5 separate regions of the Homo sapiens genome follow, and regions 2, 3, 4 and 5 are each linked to region 1. Evidence: promoter capture Hi-C in 16 types of primary human blood cells and fetal thymus (Javierre and others, 2016). All regions are on one chromosome and are shown on one strand. The core of a region is centred on a gene start or on the middle of the fragment in contact, and the rest is flanking DNA. Distances in the headings are between cores, read along the strand shown. Region 1 holds the start of XXYLT1-AS1 (XXYLT1 antisense RNA 1). Region 2 holds the start of LINC01968 (long intergenic non-protein coding RNA 1968). Region 3 overlaps LINC01968 (long intergenic non-protein coding RNA 1968). Region 4 overlaps LINC01968 (long intergenic non-protein coding RNA 1968). Region 5 overlaps LOC105374292 (a long non-coding RNA gene).

Region 1 (2,876 bases), core at 259-2,758:
CCATAAACGCGTGCTAAGGATGGAGCCATCCATCAACCTTATTTCTCCTCTTGCCTTTGCTTAGACCATAGCGTGGACACTGCTATATATTACATATTGAATTGGGTTCCCGGAGCCTCTGGCCTCTCCCCGGAAACAAGTAAGACCTTCTCTGAAGCTGCTTGAGTTCCTGTGGGCTGGAAACAGGGCAGGGAAAGAGAGGTTTGCTAACTGGTTCCTTCCCAGCCAGATGTGGTTAACGTGGCCTCTGAAAGCACCTTACTCATCCCTGTTGAGCTGCTGACCTGCAGCTCCACATGTACCCACTCTGATTCACTGAGACTCACTCCCCCTCCAGTGAAGGCTGCCCCACCCGCAGATCAGGGGACCGCACGTGTTAGGGCCTTACCTAGGGTTCCCTGGCCACTGCCGCCTGCAGGCCCTCGCTTTGTTGTGGCTCTTCCCAAGAGTCATCAGGCGCTGTTGCTCACGCATAAGCACACAGGTGACAAAGTCCCCTGAAGAATTGCCCACCAGTGTGACCTGAACGACCCCTTTCCCCAACACCACACATGAGCACTCAAACTGGATGTGGAGGCCCGGCTGTAAGAGTGCCCATCTGCAAGGCTCAGCTCTAGGAGCTGTCCCCCTGCCTTCCCTGACCATATGGGGCACAGGTTCTGTGCTGGCCCCAGTCCCAGATGGTGGAAGGCAAGGAAGGAGAACCCACATCACCCACCTGCCGTGCACCGGGGGGTTCGCGTATGACTTTGTTTAATGCCCTGGCAGAGTCTTCTGAGGCATTACACTCACCACCGCCACAGGGAGAAGACTGGAGCAAGAGGAAGAGAATTTGCATTTGCGAGTGCACGCTGCGTTCCCGCGACAGCCAGACACTGCATTACCTCATGCAGCCCTCACGGCAGTCTCATGAGATGTAATGCTTAGTTCTGGTGGAGCTGGGGCCAGAACACACTTTCCCTGACTCAGAGTCCTCACTCTTACCTCCACCTTCTCACTACTCAAAAGTGTGGCCTGCAGACCAGTAGCGTTGGTATCACCTGGGGGCTTGTCAGCGATGCGGAATCCCAGTCTGCATTTTAACCAGATCCCGGACACACATTTCCCCCGCACAGTAAGGTCTGGGAAGCACTGCCCTGCATCTAGTAACTCTTATGTGAGAGAACCCTGGGAGGGGAGGTGGAGGCCAGTGGGGTTAGCTGAGAAAACCTTCTGGAGGGCCAGTGGCAGAGCTGAGCCACAGAACAGGTGCGTGGTGGAGCAGAGGCAGCATTTGCTAATCAGAATGGCATCTGCGATGCCTTCGCAGGCTGTGTGGAGAGGGGAAGGTGCGGCCTTGTGGCCCCTTGTCTGTGTGGAAGGGCAGGCGACTCTGTGGGGGAAGGGTGGCGTGGAGACGGGAAGCGTGATTACCCACACAGGCCTCGAGCACCCGCATCCAGGGACCACGGCCGCCAGGAGGGGCTGGACTCTCTCAGGAGAAGCGTGCGTCTGGGAATCCCCGCTGAGGGGGCTTGTGAATGTGGGATCGAAGCGCTTAGATCTTGGCTTCCGGAGGTCTCCGCGGGTGTCCAGCTTTGTACAGGGTGTGGGGATGAGTCTGCCGACCGGACTCCCATGTCAGCTTTGTGTCTGGACAGAACAAGGGGCGAGGAAGCCTGGTCGGGCCACTCTGGGCCTGCATGCGTGTGGGCAGGTGTCTGTTGGTCTTGGGCAAAGGGCGAGGTGACACTGAGGGCGTGAGGGAGGAGGCCCCAAGAGAGCAGGGAAGCGTGGAAGATGCCAGCTGGCCTGGGGGCGTGGATGTGGGTTTCAGCAGAGTGCAGACAGGCAGTGGGGCGTGGGGCCTCCTTGGGGCCTCGCTGGGCTGTGTCGGGTGCTTGCTTTCTTTTCTCCTTTGCCTCCTTCCAAGGTGCGTCCACAGCCAGCGTTTCTTTATGCTTTTCCCTCAGTCTGAGACCTAGGAACAGGAGAGGCCAGTGCTGTGAATTTCATGTTTCATGGCCTCCCCAGCAAGCCAGCCCACGAAATTCCACACAGGGAGGAGGAAGAGGAGGAGGAGGAGGAGGAGCTGCCACTGTCCCCGAGGGGAGCAGCTGACACTCTCCCCTTGACTGCACCAGGCCTTGGGGGTATGGCGCCTCCACGGACGTGGGCTGGGGGAGGATAGGCTCCTAATTAGTTTGGATGCGCTTGGAGTCAGGGCACCTTTTCCCCAGTGGGCAGTTCTGCACCCTGAACAGCTGTGGGGAGAAGGGCAGCGGGAGGACGGCCAGATAATTCCAGAAGAAAGGCTCCAGGAGTGGCAGCAGAACTGCTGTTATTTTCGGAGGAGTCTAATTACTTTCCCCAGGTAATGGCTTGAAGTAGCATCTAATTTTATTTATTTATTTATTTATTTATTTTTATTTTTTTATTATACTTTAAGTTCTAGGGTACATGTGCACATTGTGCAGGTTAGTTACATATGTATACATGTGCCATGCTGGTGCGCTGCACCCACTAACTCGTCATCTAGCATTAGGTATATCCCCCAATGCTATCCCTCCCCCCTCCCACCACCCCACAACAGTCCCCAGAGTGTGATATTCCCCTTCCTGTGTCCATGTGATCTCACTGTTCAATTCCCACCTATGAGTGAGAATATGCGGTGTTTGGTTTTTTGTACTTGCGATAGTTTACTGAGAATGATGATTTCCAATTTCATCCATGTCCCTACAAAGGACAGTAACTCATCATTTTTTATGGCTGCATAGTATTCCATGGTGTATATGTGCCACATTTTCTTAATCCAGTCTATCATTGTTGGACATTTGGGTTGGTTCCAAGTCTTTGCTATTGTGAATAATGCCACAATAAACATACGTGTGCATGTG
Region 2 (2,876 bases), core at 133-2,632, 380 kb after region 1:
TTAGATAATACATCTTCTACTGTCCCAGTGGCCTAAGGAGTCTTGCTCTGTCACCCAGGCTGGAGTGCGGTGGTGCAATCTCGGCTCACTGCAACCTCCGCCTCCCATGTTCAAATGATTCTTCTGCCTCAGCCTCCTGAGTAGCTGGAATTACAGGCGCACACCACCACACGTGGCTAAATTTTGTATTTTTAGCACAGACGGGGTTTCACCATGTTGGCCAGGCTGGTCTTGAACTCCTGACCTCATGTGATCTGCCTGCCTTGGCCTCCCAAAGTGCTGGGATTACAGGCGTGAGCACTGCGTTCGGCCTAGGTTTTGTGTCTCGCAGCCTCAACCACCAGAAAAAGAATTATTGGTCCCAAATTCAAAATTTCCAGGGAAGGGACTTAGTGGCTGGGAGGTGGGTCACTTTGGCCAAGGGATGGCACACAGAAGAAAACACCAGTTCCCTTGGAGACCACAGGAATGAGCTGGGAGCAGTTCTTGGAAGAAGAGACGGTGCTATCGGAAAAAGTGGATGTGCCAGGCGGACTGGGCGGACTAAACAATAGGTTTCCAATTATTGGGTCTACACTTTCCTATATCTAGATTCCACTGAATACTTATTCTGAAATATATTCTTCCAAAAACAGGGTTTGTGGTTAAATAAATGTAGGGGAAACTATAGATTTTATCACTCATAGAGAATCATGAGACATATTAGCATATGAAAGGCTCTGACAATTTCTTTTAAAAAGAAACATCTTCAAGAATATTTGACCCAGTGTTTCCCAAGTTCATTTGATCACTGAAACCTTTTTTAATGCCATGCCCGTAACATTCCATGGGATTAGTGTTCTAAAAACATATTTTGGGAAAGCCATTCTAAGTGATAGATGTTCTTCAGAAAGACGTGAGTCAAATTCTTGAAAATAAGATAGCAGCCTGGGCACGGTGGCTTGCACCTGTGATCCCACCACTTTGGGAGGCCGAAGCGGATGGATCACCTGAGGTCAGGAGTTCGAGACCAGGCTGGCCAACATGGCGAAACCCCGTCCCTACTAAAAATACAAAAAAAAAACCACACAAAAAATTAGTTGGGCGTGGTGGCAGGCGCCTGTAATCTCAGTTGCTTGGGAGGCTGAGATAGGAGAATCACTTGAACCCAGGAGGCAGAGGTTGCAGTGAGCCGAGATCATGCCATTGCACTCCAGCCTGGGTGACAGAGCAAGACTCTGTCTCAAAAAAAAAAAAAAAAAGAAAGAAAGAAAAGAAAAAAAAAAGGCCTTTACACAAACCAGAGAGCTGGGTATTTATAGAAACTGTTAAATTATTTTCAAAGAGTTGTTTCATAACGTAATTTAAACGCCATCAGTGCTACCAGTTTCTAGGCTCAAGAGTTTTACGTGCTCAGAGTTACGTGTCTTATTAACATGGGCTACATCTCTGCAGCCCCAGACCTTCCCTATCTGGAGCATTCCTCTCCCGGGCACCCTCACATGTTGTTCAGAAGCCTTTTCAACTGTTTTCTAATACCCTGTCCCCTTTGGGGTAAAGCACATCTTTATGCCATTATGGGGCTGGCCACTGCAGTTTGCAAAATCAACTTAGCACAGGGACATCTGTTCTACTCTGTGTGCTGGTGTCATAAAAGGTCCCACTGGGCTGAGCAATGCACCTGAGAGCAGTGTTAACAGCACCTCACATCTGGGGTGGCCTGGAGGCTGGGCCAGCATGAATTAGTGTAATGAAGGTCTTCTCCTCTCTCACACGAGGTTGGAATCTCACACCAGATCAACTACCTGGATTAGAGATACAACCAAAGAGCACAGTAAACTGCATGGACATTTAGGACCAGAGCACTAATATAGGTTGGCTATTAAATCTGGAAACAGGTGAATATATAATAAATGGTTTGTTGGTATTACCTTATGATGCATGATAATATAATATCTACATGTCCAGACTTCATGGCCACTCTGTAGCAGAAGCTATTATTTATATCAAGCAGTTATTAAGTGTCAGGAGGTCCTCTTCTAAATGCTTCACCTGAATTAGCTAATTTAATTCTCACGATGCCATGAGGAGGGTACTGTCATCATTTCCACAGTAATAGGTCAGGAAACCAAGGCACAAAGGGCTTCAGCATCTGGCCCAAGGTCCGCTGTTGGTAAGTGGTGGGGCTGAGCTCGGGGAGCCCCACTCTGGAACCGGTACTCTTACACATACACTACGGCCGCCTCTCCAGGTGTCATGAAAGTCTCCTAGGCTTTGCTGAATAGCAGTCAAAAAAAACTGGGATTTAGCCTTCTCTATCTTGCTATTTTTGTTTCCATGGGTGGCATAGGAAAAATCATTGTAATTAACATCTGTACCACTCTTTGTAGTTTGGTCCTCATCACGACCCATTACAGCAAACCAGGCAAGGCCTATATTTCCATTTCCAGATGAGGAAGCTGAGCCTTTAACAGGATCCCTACCTAACAAATGGCAGAGCCATGTCCTCTGACGTCAGGAGCTTCATGATTTTAACTTACTGCTTGTGTTGGGTTCTGTGGTAGCCAATATACAAGGTGGTCCCGAGTGATCTTTGCCTCTTGTGTTATTTCCTCCCACGCTGAACAGGACTCACTTGTATAACCACTGTGACATTGTGGAAATGATGATGTGTGACTTCTGAGGTGAGGTCATAAAAGGCATTGCAGTTTCTACCTTGATCTCTCCTGGATCATTCACTCAGGAGGAAGTTGGCTGCCATGTTGTGAGGATGCACAAGCAGCCCCATACAGAGTCCCTCCTGGTGAGGATCCAAAGCCACCTGCCAACAGCCCGTGAAGAACTAAAGCCTTCTGCCCACAACCAATGCAACCAGTGCTAATTTGTCAGCCTTGTGA
Region 3 (2,876 bases), core at 140-2,639, 350 kb after region 1:
TCAAAGCTAGGACCGAGATAGGACCGAGACCTAATATTTCTCCCATGAGTCACTACATTACGCGTTACCAAGAATGCAGACCGCCTGTAAGAAGCCGTGCAGGTCCCTTAAGTACCTGAAGTCACAGCCACTTAACTCCAGCTGGACACATCCAAGCTGGGCTCACCAGTGTCTCATTGACTGGTGATCATGCGTCAGCCCTGTCAGGCCACCAGCCTGCCTAAAAGTCAACTCTCAACATGGCGTTCCTTTGCCAAGGAACCACTTGTGGGCAACATGGATGTCCACCCCTGGGCGTGGACAGGATGTAGTGGGTGTACTTCAGTGGTACTACACAGCCCTTAGAAGTCATTGCCTGTACGCACACTTGGTAGTATGAATGAATCTTAAAATCCTAGTGCCAAATAAAAAAGCCAGCAGCAGAATAACATATACGAAATCCCAAATCATTTACATACATTAAAGCAAAATGCATCCTAAGAACTAGGCAGCAATATCACTTATATAAGAACATGCACAAACACAAAGAAGGATGGCAAATGTATTAGAAGCAAGCCATCCCGCTATGGATGGGGAAATGAGAATACATAAGCAAATCAAGAGAGGGAATGTGTAGGGACCAATGATGGTAATATGTCATGAACTGCAGGATCTGATTAACTTAATCCTCTAATTTTCTTCACCAGAAGTCAAAAAAAGCAGAGGGACGTGGGGAGGACACATACATCTCTGACCTTGTTTACTGGTTTGTTTGTTTTTTTGGAGACCGAGTCTCACTCTGTCGCCAGGCTGGAGTGCAGCGGCATGATCTGGGCTCACTGCAACCTCCGACTCCCTGGTTCAAGCTATTCTCCTGCCTCAGCCTCCCAAGTAGCTGGCATTACAGGCACGTGCCACCACGCCCAGCTAATTTTTTTTTTTGTATTTTTAGTGGAGACAGGGTTTCATCATGTTGGCCAGGATGGTCTCTATCTCCTGACCTCGTGATCCACCCACCTCTGCCTCCCAAAGTGCTGGGATTATAGACATGAGCCACCGTGCCTGGCTGGTTTATTTGTTTATAGAGACAGGGCTTGTCCTGTCATCCAGGATGGAGTGCTGTGGTGTAATCATAGTTCACTGTAACCTTGAATGCCTGGGCTCATGGGCTCAAGCCATCCTTCTGCCTCAGCCTCCCGAGTAACTGAGACTATAGGTGTATGCCACGGCACCAGGCTAATTTTTAAAAAAATTTTTTTAGAGATGGGGTCTTGCTTTGTTGCACAGGCTGGTCTCAAACTCCATCTTTAAGTGATTCTCTTGCCTCAGCCTCCCAAAGTGCTGGGATTGCAGGTGTGAGCCACGGTGCTCTGCCTGGCCTAGGTTTACATTTCCAACCTCAGCTCCCACTTCCTTGAGCCTCAAGCCAAACAGGATGACCTGTGACTCACACAACACTCCCGATTCTTCGCCTTTGATTATGCTGCCCTTCTATGGCCAAGTCTGCCCCACACTTCCAGGGCCAGCTCCGGTGCTGCCCCCTCCACAGGCTTCCTCCTGTCTTCCTGAACCACCTGCTACTTTCTCTGCCCCACACTGCAGGCACTGGTCAGCATGTTTCGCAGCATGTCCTTATTTGTAGGCAGAAGTGACCCCAGTGGAGCCTCTAGGGTGGGGCTGCTCTGTTCAGGGAGGCTGTACACAGGGGCTTTTTGTGTCTTTGGCCATCTGCGCTCCAGATCGCAAGGTATGTCTTCTAAGCACACCCTTCAAAGCACTTCCTCTGAAAGGAGCACTTTCTCTACACAGAGATGCAGTACTTTCCCAGGAGAGCCCATCCCGAAGAAGAGGCCCACAGACAGATGCTTGGTGAATGGACAACTAGCAAGAGGACATCCACAAGCCCTTCTATAGTTAAGCCCTAGGCTCTCTTCCCATGCCCAAGACATCTCTCTGGCATCCCCTTTCCTCCCTTCCTGCAAGACCCAAGACTCAGCCGGGCTGCCTCTTCCCTTGCAAACTACTTCCACCCTGAGCCTCCTCTAAAATGGAACCTGACTGTGGAAGCCATTCTCTTGTTATTTGGACAACCACTCCCCACAGTCCCCCTCAACAATAGGTACTTAATCGGAAGCCACCTAGAGTCCTACAAACATAAAGATCTGGGAATTGGAAACCTTAGGAAGTGGTGAAAGCTCCGTTCCCTGTCTTCAGTGTGTAGATAGTCAGTAACAAACATTTCTGAGCACCTGTTATATGCTAGGCACTGATTTTGACCCTGGAGACATGATGGCGAGTAAAGGAACGTGAGCCCTCCCCTCATGGGGCTGGCTGATAATCTACTTCCCAGGGTGCAACTCTCACCCACTCTCCAAAGACAAGAATGTGAATTTTGCCAAATTCAATTTTCATTCCCCTGGGGCCTGTGCAGTGCTGGCAACAGAGGGGAGCCACTGGCTGGAGACCAGCTGCCTCCCAGGGCCCTGCCAGGGCTGGCACAGAGGGCTGGTGTTTCTATTCCCAGGGCCTGGCTCCCAACCAGGATGGCATCTGCTCAGCATTTGGAGCCCAGCATACTCTAATTGTCCTGTGGCCTCGTGGCACTTTCAGCCTATCAACTGAGTTTTTCTTAAAAAGCAACTCCTGTGTTTATTGGTTTTCTGGCCCAGATTTAGGTCACTAGAATTTTCCTTAAGGATGGAAAAACTCAGAGAACCAGATCTGGATGACTCTCTCATGCCGGGATGTGAGTGGGAGGGACTGGTGACATACTAAGAGAAGCTGGCTTAATGCCCACACCTACCACTCACTGCCTCACTACTTTTCTGAATGGCACTGGTCCTTCCTGAGCCCTTGGACAAGAAGCTAGGGGCCCTCACCCCAGTGAGGTGGCATTG
Region 4 (2,876 bases), core at 205-2,704, 330 kb after region 1:
CCATGGTGTATATGTGATATATTATGCATCAATTTAAAAAAAAAAATAAAGAAACCTAAGCGTGTAGTGTAAGAACTCTGAGAGCCAATCGCTCAATTGAAACTTTTCTTTGAGACCTTGGAGCAGGATTTGCAGGACCAAAGTGTGGGCCAATGAGGTGACAGACTGTCTCAAGAGAAAGAAGGGGAAATTGATGGTAGGAAAATTCATGATGAATTCCTGAAGAGGCTTTGTTTCAGTGAAGCATTTCTTAATTTTATTTTCCAGAATCTTCCCTTCAGAGAATACTAGAAAGTGTTCAGTATGTTAAGCCCTTAGAAATAAATTCTGGCCGGGCGCGGTGGCTCACGCCTGTAATCCCAGCACTTGGGGAGGCTGAGGTGGGTGGATCACAAGGTCAGGAGATCAAGACCATCCTGGCCAACACGGTGAAACCCCATCTCTACTGGGCGCCTGTAGTCCCAGCTACTCGGGAGGCTGAGGCAGGAGAATGGCGTGAACCCGGGAGGGAACCCGGGAGGCGGAGCTTGCAACGAGCCGAGATCGAGCTTGCAATGAGCCAAGATCGCGCCACTGCACTCCAGCCTGGGATACAGAGCGAGACTCCGTCTCCAAAAAAAATAAAAATAAAATTTAAAAGAAAAAAAAAATTCTACAGAAATTCACTAGAATCTCTCCTTCCTTCCTTTCTTCCAACTTTTCCTCCTTTCTTCTTTCCTCCGTTCCTCTTTCCTTCCTTTTCCCTCGCCTTATTCCTAAATGGATTTGAAATAACAAACGCCTCCGTGTTCTTGCGGTCCTGCACTTTAATAACACGGAATTGCACACTGCTTCATATGAGTGGGCCAGTGTCTGGAGTCCAAAATCTTTTCTGTTCTAAGAAATCTAGGCCAAAGCTGAACCTTCAGTAATGAGATCTAACCTATAATCAAATTAAATAGCACAGCATTAGATCAATTTCAGCCCCATACATCCACTGCTATTGGCTTCTACTAAATGTTTTAAATTGGTACAAAAGCCTTACTGAAAGGGAATCTTATATAGACCTATCATATAGAGGATGTTTCCTTAATCATCTTTTTAATGAAAAAAAAACTAAGCAAAAAGAAAACAAAATTAAGATCTAAGAGGCTTCATGATATCATCCCAAACCCAGCCAGTGATATTTTTGAAAGGGCAACAAAGAACTGGCGATAACATCTTTATTTTGGTTTGCTTCTAAGCCTAGAGGCACGGAGAAGATGAGAACATACACTTAGATCATGCCAACTTAGAAGACTTTCTAGTTTTGAAAATAGCATTTCTTCCTCTCCTTCCCAAACAGAGTAGCACTGGAACGCTCCCCGTCTTCATCCTACACTCTTTGACATCACCTCAAAGAGGAAGTCAATTTTACTACATGATTAAGACTCAAGCGAAGCATAATTCATTCAAGCAACTCACTACATATGTCAAAAATATAAATCCAGGGCTGGGCATGGTGGCTCATGCCTGTAATCCCAGCACTTTGGGAGGCCGAGGCTGGTGGCTCACTAGAGGTCAGGAGTTCGAGACCAGCCTAGCCAACATGGTGAAACCCCGACTCTACTAAAAATACAAAAATTAGCCAGGCGTGGTGGCACACACCTGTAATCCCAGCTACTCAGAAGGCTGAGGCAGGAGAATCGCCTGAACCCAGGAGGTGGAGATTGCAGTGAGCCAAGATGGCACCATTGCACTCCAGCCTGGGCAACAGGGCGAGACTCTGTCTCAAAAAATAAAATAATAAAATAAAATAAATAAAATAAAATAAAATAAATCCACGCCTTTCAGGAAAAGATGAAAAATCAGAGGGTCAAGGAAGACTGCATGGGCAACACATTAACTCTCTCCCATGTTCTTTCCTGAGAAGCCAAGATGCCCTGGCTTATGGTCCAACTCCTACCCCCACAGCCCAGAGGAGTCTCCCCTCCTCTAAAGTGGGTCTTAGAAACAGGTCCTTCCTGGCCGGGCTTGGTGGGTCACGCCTGTAATCCCAGCACTTTGGGAGGCTGAAGCAGTCAGATCACCTGAGGTCAAGAGTTCTAGACTAGCCTGCCTAACCCCATCTCTACTAAAAAATACAAAAAAAATTCACCGGGTGTGGTGGCACCTACCTGTAATCCCAGCTACTTGGGAGACTGAGGCAGCAGAATCACATGAACCCAGGAAGCAGAGGTTGCAGTGAGCCGAGATCGCACCACTGCACTCCAGCCTGGGCGGCAGAGTGAGATGCCATCTCAAATAAATAAATAAATAAAATATTTATCATGAATGATATCCCAAGGGGCCTGTGAAGACGCTGATGGTGTGTGGTCTGGCTTCCTTCTTTTTTTTTTTTTTTTGAGATGGAGTCTCGCTTTGTCACCCTAGCTGCAGTGCAGTGGCTCGATCTCGGCTCCCCGCAACCTCCACCTCCCAGGTTCAAGTGATGTTCGTGCCTCAGCCTCCCGAGTAGCTGGGATTACAGGTGCACACCACCACTCCAGGCTAATTTTTGTATTTTTAGTAGAGACAAGGGTTCACTATGTTGGCCCGGCTGGTCTCGAACTCCTGACCTCAGGTGATCCACCCGCCTTGGCCTCCCAAAGTGCTGGGATTACAGGCGTGAGCCACTGCACCTGGCCGGTCCTGTTTTCATATGCATTCAAATTCATTGATTTGCCACAAGAATGCTATCAGGTAGGTGCTGTGTTCAACCCCACTTTAAGGGTAAGAAATAGGGGGCACAGACAGAAGTAGAAGGAAGGATTCCAGCTCAAGCCATCTGGCTTTGGAGCTCAGGCTCCTAACTGCTGTACCTAGATGGCCTCTCCATAAGAGGCTACCTTGGAGAAAAGAGAGTGAAGCAGCCATTA
Region 5 (2,876 bases), core at 115-2,614, 280 kb after region 1:
TAACAAAGCCCTGTGGCCTTTGCCATATATTCATATACTCAATATCTACGCCAGTCTTTTGAGAGTGTATGCTTACGTTCATGCGCTTTAATCTCTTTTTTACGGTGTGCTTACCGTGTTCTAGGTACTGTTTTAGGCACTGCCATTCAACGTATCATTTTACCGTCATATCACCCCCAAGAAGGGGATTTTATTAGCCTCATTTTACAAATAAGGAAACTAAACCTCCCAGATGCCGAGTAACTTGGTCAAGGTAAACGGCTTTGAGTCCACAGCCTGTGCGACCTTTCTGCTACATCTTAGAGCGATTGCACAGGCTCGGAGGAAAGCCAGAGCTGAAACCGTAGGGGTCATTATCTGTTATCCTGATTTGCCTTTTAAGGATGCAAATTGTGCGGAAGATTTTTTCATGATATCAAAAGATCAGACGGGCCCTTCAGACAGCAGAAGCCCTCGCCCTCCATAGACTCTCCAGCAAACGCTCTCAGGTGCATTTCCTGCCCGTGGGGCCCGTCCTGGGCTCAGTGACACACCCCAGCAGCACAGGCTCCTGCACAGAAGCCAGCCTGGCTTCTGGAAAGGAGAAGGTCTGGAGGCAGGGACACAAGCTTTGAAGGCTGGCAGGTCTGATTTTGAATCCTGGCTTCAGTCCTGAGCTGAAGTCACTTATCCTTTTGGGGTCTCAGTTCCCCCATCTTAAAGTAAAGGAAATAATAATTATTTGGCAAGACCCTTGTATGGCTTAGAGATAGTGGCAAAGGCTGTGTGCTGGTTAACTGGAGCTGATGGGGGTGGCAGCAACTATTAATAATCCTCCTCCTGAGGGCCCCAGTTCACTTCCCCCTACATTGTTCTAACTAAAGAAAAAATCAGATGGAGATTATTTGAAGAACTAAAAAATTATAAAGGCAACAGATTGCTCTTTGCAGTAAAATAATTCTAATTGCTCCCCTAGGTTTGGAGGCCAAGCCCCACTATTACAAATAGCATGATCATTAACATTTCGTATAACAAAAATACTTCAAATGTAAATGATGACCCTTCCCTCAGTTTAAGCCAAACAGGAAACCCACATGTGTGGGGTACACTATGGGTTGAAGAGGCAGGTCCCTTCCCTTGTCCCGGTGTCAGTACATGTGGTTTAGATACCCCAGAGACCGGGTGGCAGCAGCAGGTGGAACCCATCTCAAATTTTCAAAATCAAGAAATTCAAATCACACAATCTGATTTGTCTCCTGTGCTCAGTGCAACTAAATCTGGAAACCCCCTCCCCGCCACCCACAATTGTATTATAACAAAACTGAACATATCCCCTCTCTTTCCCCACTCAGAACAAATAATTCAGGAGTCTCACAAAACCTTTATCCTATTTCTTATTGCTTTAGCTTGTTTGTCCTTTTGACCTCTCAGTTCCATGTGTGTTCAACTAAAATCTAAATTGACCCACTTTGCACCCGGCACTGGGCAGACCAGAGAGGCAGCTGACCTCCTTTAGCGCCCATCACCTTCTGACTCTGTGCTACGTACCTGGCACAGCTTCTCCCTCATGACCTCATTCCCTGCCCTCAAGGGACTTAACAAGCAAATGGGAGAGACACAACTGTGTACAGCCACAACACGGTGCACAGTTTCCATGTCACAAGAAGGGAATGTGCAGGCAGAGGGGTGCTCAATTCCAACTGGAGAAACAAGGAGGTTCCAAAGAGGAGGCAGTATATGATGTGCCTTTTATTGATGGAAATTTCAGAGAAAGTTTTTTCATGATTATCAGAAGATCATTAACAGTCTTTCAACTAGGAGAAGCCCCAGCCCTCCCATAAACTCCATAAAAGAAAAAGGAGCAGAATTTCAAGATGGGAAGTTGGGAAGAGGAATCTGGTCATTGTAAACAGACTATGTTGCAAAACTTCAAAGACTCCTTAGAGATCAAGTAAACCCATGTAGCTGGGTCTTATTTACTGAAAGGGAGAAGCATCAGAGTGGAGCGAATAGTTCCCTACATTTGCAGTCCCCGCAATGACCAAGGATCAGGTAAATGACTAGTAATGGACTTCTATCTTCTTGAGTGGATAATCTTCCTATTACTGACAAATCGAGACGTGCTGCTATAAGAAGCTTCGAGCGCTCAGGCCTGGGAGCGGAAACCTGGTGCAAACATCCTAGACTGTTTGGAGCTGTCCAGGTTGTGTTGGTGTAGCCCTAACTGTGCAGCCAGACCAAGCCTAGGAGAGGAGCACAGAGCTGGCTCTCTTGCCTATAATCTGATGCATGAGAGAGCGCCTGGAAAATTATGTGTCCATTAGCTAAATGACCCTGGGGCTTTATGACTTGCTCTTTTTGTAAATCAAAAATAATAACAATAACAGCTCACCATCTTCTCATGCTGTTGGAGAGAGTGAGTATTTCATCTACCATTAAACAGTGACAGCTGCTCCCCAAGACAACTCCATTCTAAACCCCAGGATACAGAAGCTGACGGAAAGCCTGTGCTCCCATCCTGACCCACCTAGCCAGGACCCCATCATAATGAGCAATTTAGCCCCTTTCTTATCAAAGGGGTTGGCAACCAAGCCAGTTCCGAAGCGAAGGTGATTGTTTTAGTGCAGGAACATTTCGGGGAGGGACCAAACATCCCTGTCTTGAAGCCAAGGTAGCCCCACCTAGAAGAGGTCCCTGTTAATTCCACCTGATGACAGGTATCCCCGTTCCAATCTGCTATGCCCTTTTATCCATCATATCCTTCCTGGGCCTGGGGGTGTTGCCAGCTGGCTGGAACAGCAGAGAGGTGATGTGGAGGTGAGTGTGTCTTTTGCAGGGCAAGAACAGGGCTTCTCTCTGGGCAGTTTGCCCAGTTCTAGGTAGCCTCATGCTGAACC

What was found. Contacts are between HindIII fragments. The CHiCAGO score rates a contact against its expected background, and 5 or more counts as called.
Region 2: a fragment that was not itself captured here is called in contact with the fragment with the promoter of XXYLT1-AS1 in region 1 in 10 of 17 cell types (naive CD8 T cells, total CD8 T cells, M1 macrophages and 7 more); the score reaches 10.7 in naive CD8 T cells.
Region 3: a fragment that was not itself captured here is called in contact with the fragment with the promoter of XXYLT1-AS1 in region 1 in 11 of 17 cell types (total B cells, naive B cells, neutrophils and 8 more); the score reaches 11.2 in total B cells.
Region 4: a contact is called between a fragment that was not itself captured here and the fragment with the promoter of XXYLT1-AS1 in region 1, in 10 of 17 cell types (monocytes, naive B cells, total B cells and 7 more). The highest score is 10.4, in monocytes.
Region 5: a contact is called between a fragment that was not itself captured here and the fragment with the promoter of XXYLT1-AS1 in region 1, in 2 of 17 cell types (monocytes and naive B cells). The highest score is 5.5, in monocytes.

What each region holds. Positions count from the first base shown.
Region 1 is chr3:195,093,220-195,096,095 of GRCh38, reverse strand. It overlaps XXYLT1-AS1 (XXYLT1 antisense RNA 1), which reads right to left and starts at 1,508. Exons shown (of 4, transcript NR_104188.1): 1 at 1,418-1,508; 2 at 719-811; 3 at 389-497; 4 at 39-176. All of the region lies in intron 3 of XXYLT1 (xyloside xylosyltransferase 1), which reads left to right. RefSeq lists enhancers at 1-1,123, 1,588-1,637, 1,708-1,877, 1,998-2,067. The HindIII fragment of the contact is 5,440 bases long and covers 1-2,876 here.
Region 2 is chr3:194,708,182-194,711,057 of GRCh38, reverse strand. It overlaps LINC01968 (long intergenic non-protein coding RNA 1968), which reads right to left and starts at 2,637. Exons shown (of 4, transcript NR_037891.1): 1 at 1,911-2,637. The region is part of intron 2 of LOC105374292 (a long non-coding RNA gene); the gene reads right to left. The HindIII fragment of the contact is 5,304 bases long and covers 1-2,876 here.
Region 3 is chr3:194,738,254-194,741,129 of GRCh38, reverse strand. All of the region lies in intron 1 of LINC01968 (long intergenic non-protein coding RNA 1968), which reads right to left. The region is part of intron 2 of LOC105374292 (a long non-coding RNA gene); the gene reads right to left. Among named protein-coding and RNA genes, the nearest start is that of LINC01972, 29 kb to the left of the region's middle. The HindIII fragment of the contact is 3,521 bases long and covers 1-2,876 here.
Region 4 is chr3:194,763,002-194,765,877 of GRCh38, reverse strand. All of the region lies in intron 3 of LINC01968 (long intergenic non-protein coding RNA 1968), which reads right to left. It overlaps LINC01972 (long intergenic non-protein coding RNA 1972), which reads left to right. Exons shown (of 3, transcript NR_146990.1): 3 at 268-640. All of the region lies in intron 2 of LOC105374292 (a long non-coding RNA gene), which reads right to left. Among named protein-coding and RNA genes, the nearest start is that of LINC01972, 4.3 kb to the left of the region's middle. The HindIII fragment of the contact is 6,875 bases long and covers 1-2,876 here.
Region 5 is chr3:194,808,933-194,811,808 of GRCh38, reverse strand. All of the region lies in intron 3 of LOC105374292 (a long non-coding RNA gene), which reads right to left. Among named protein-coding and RNA genes, the nearest start is that of LINC01972, 42 kb to the right of the region's middle. The HindIII fragment of the contact is 1,507 bases long and covers 611-2,117 here.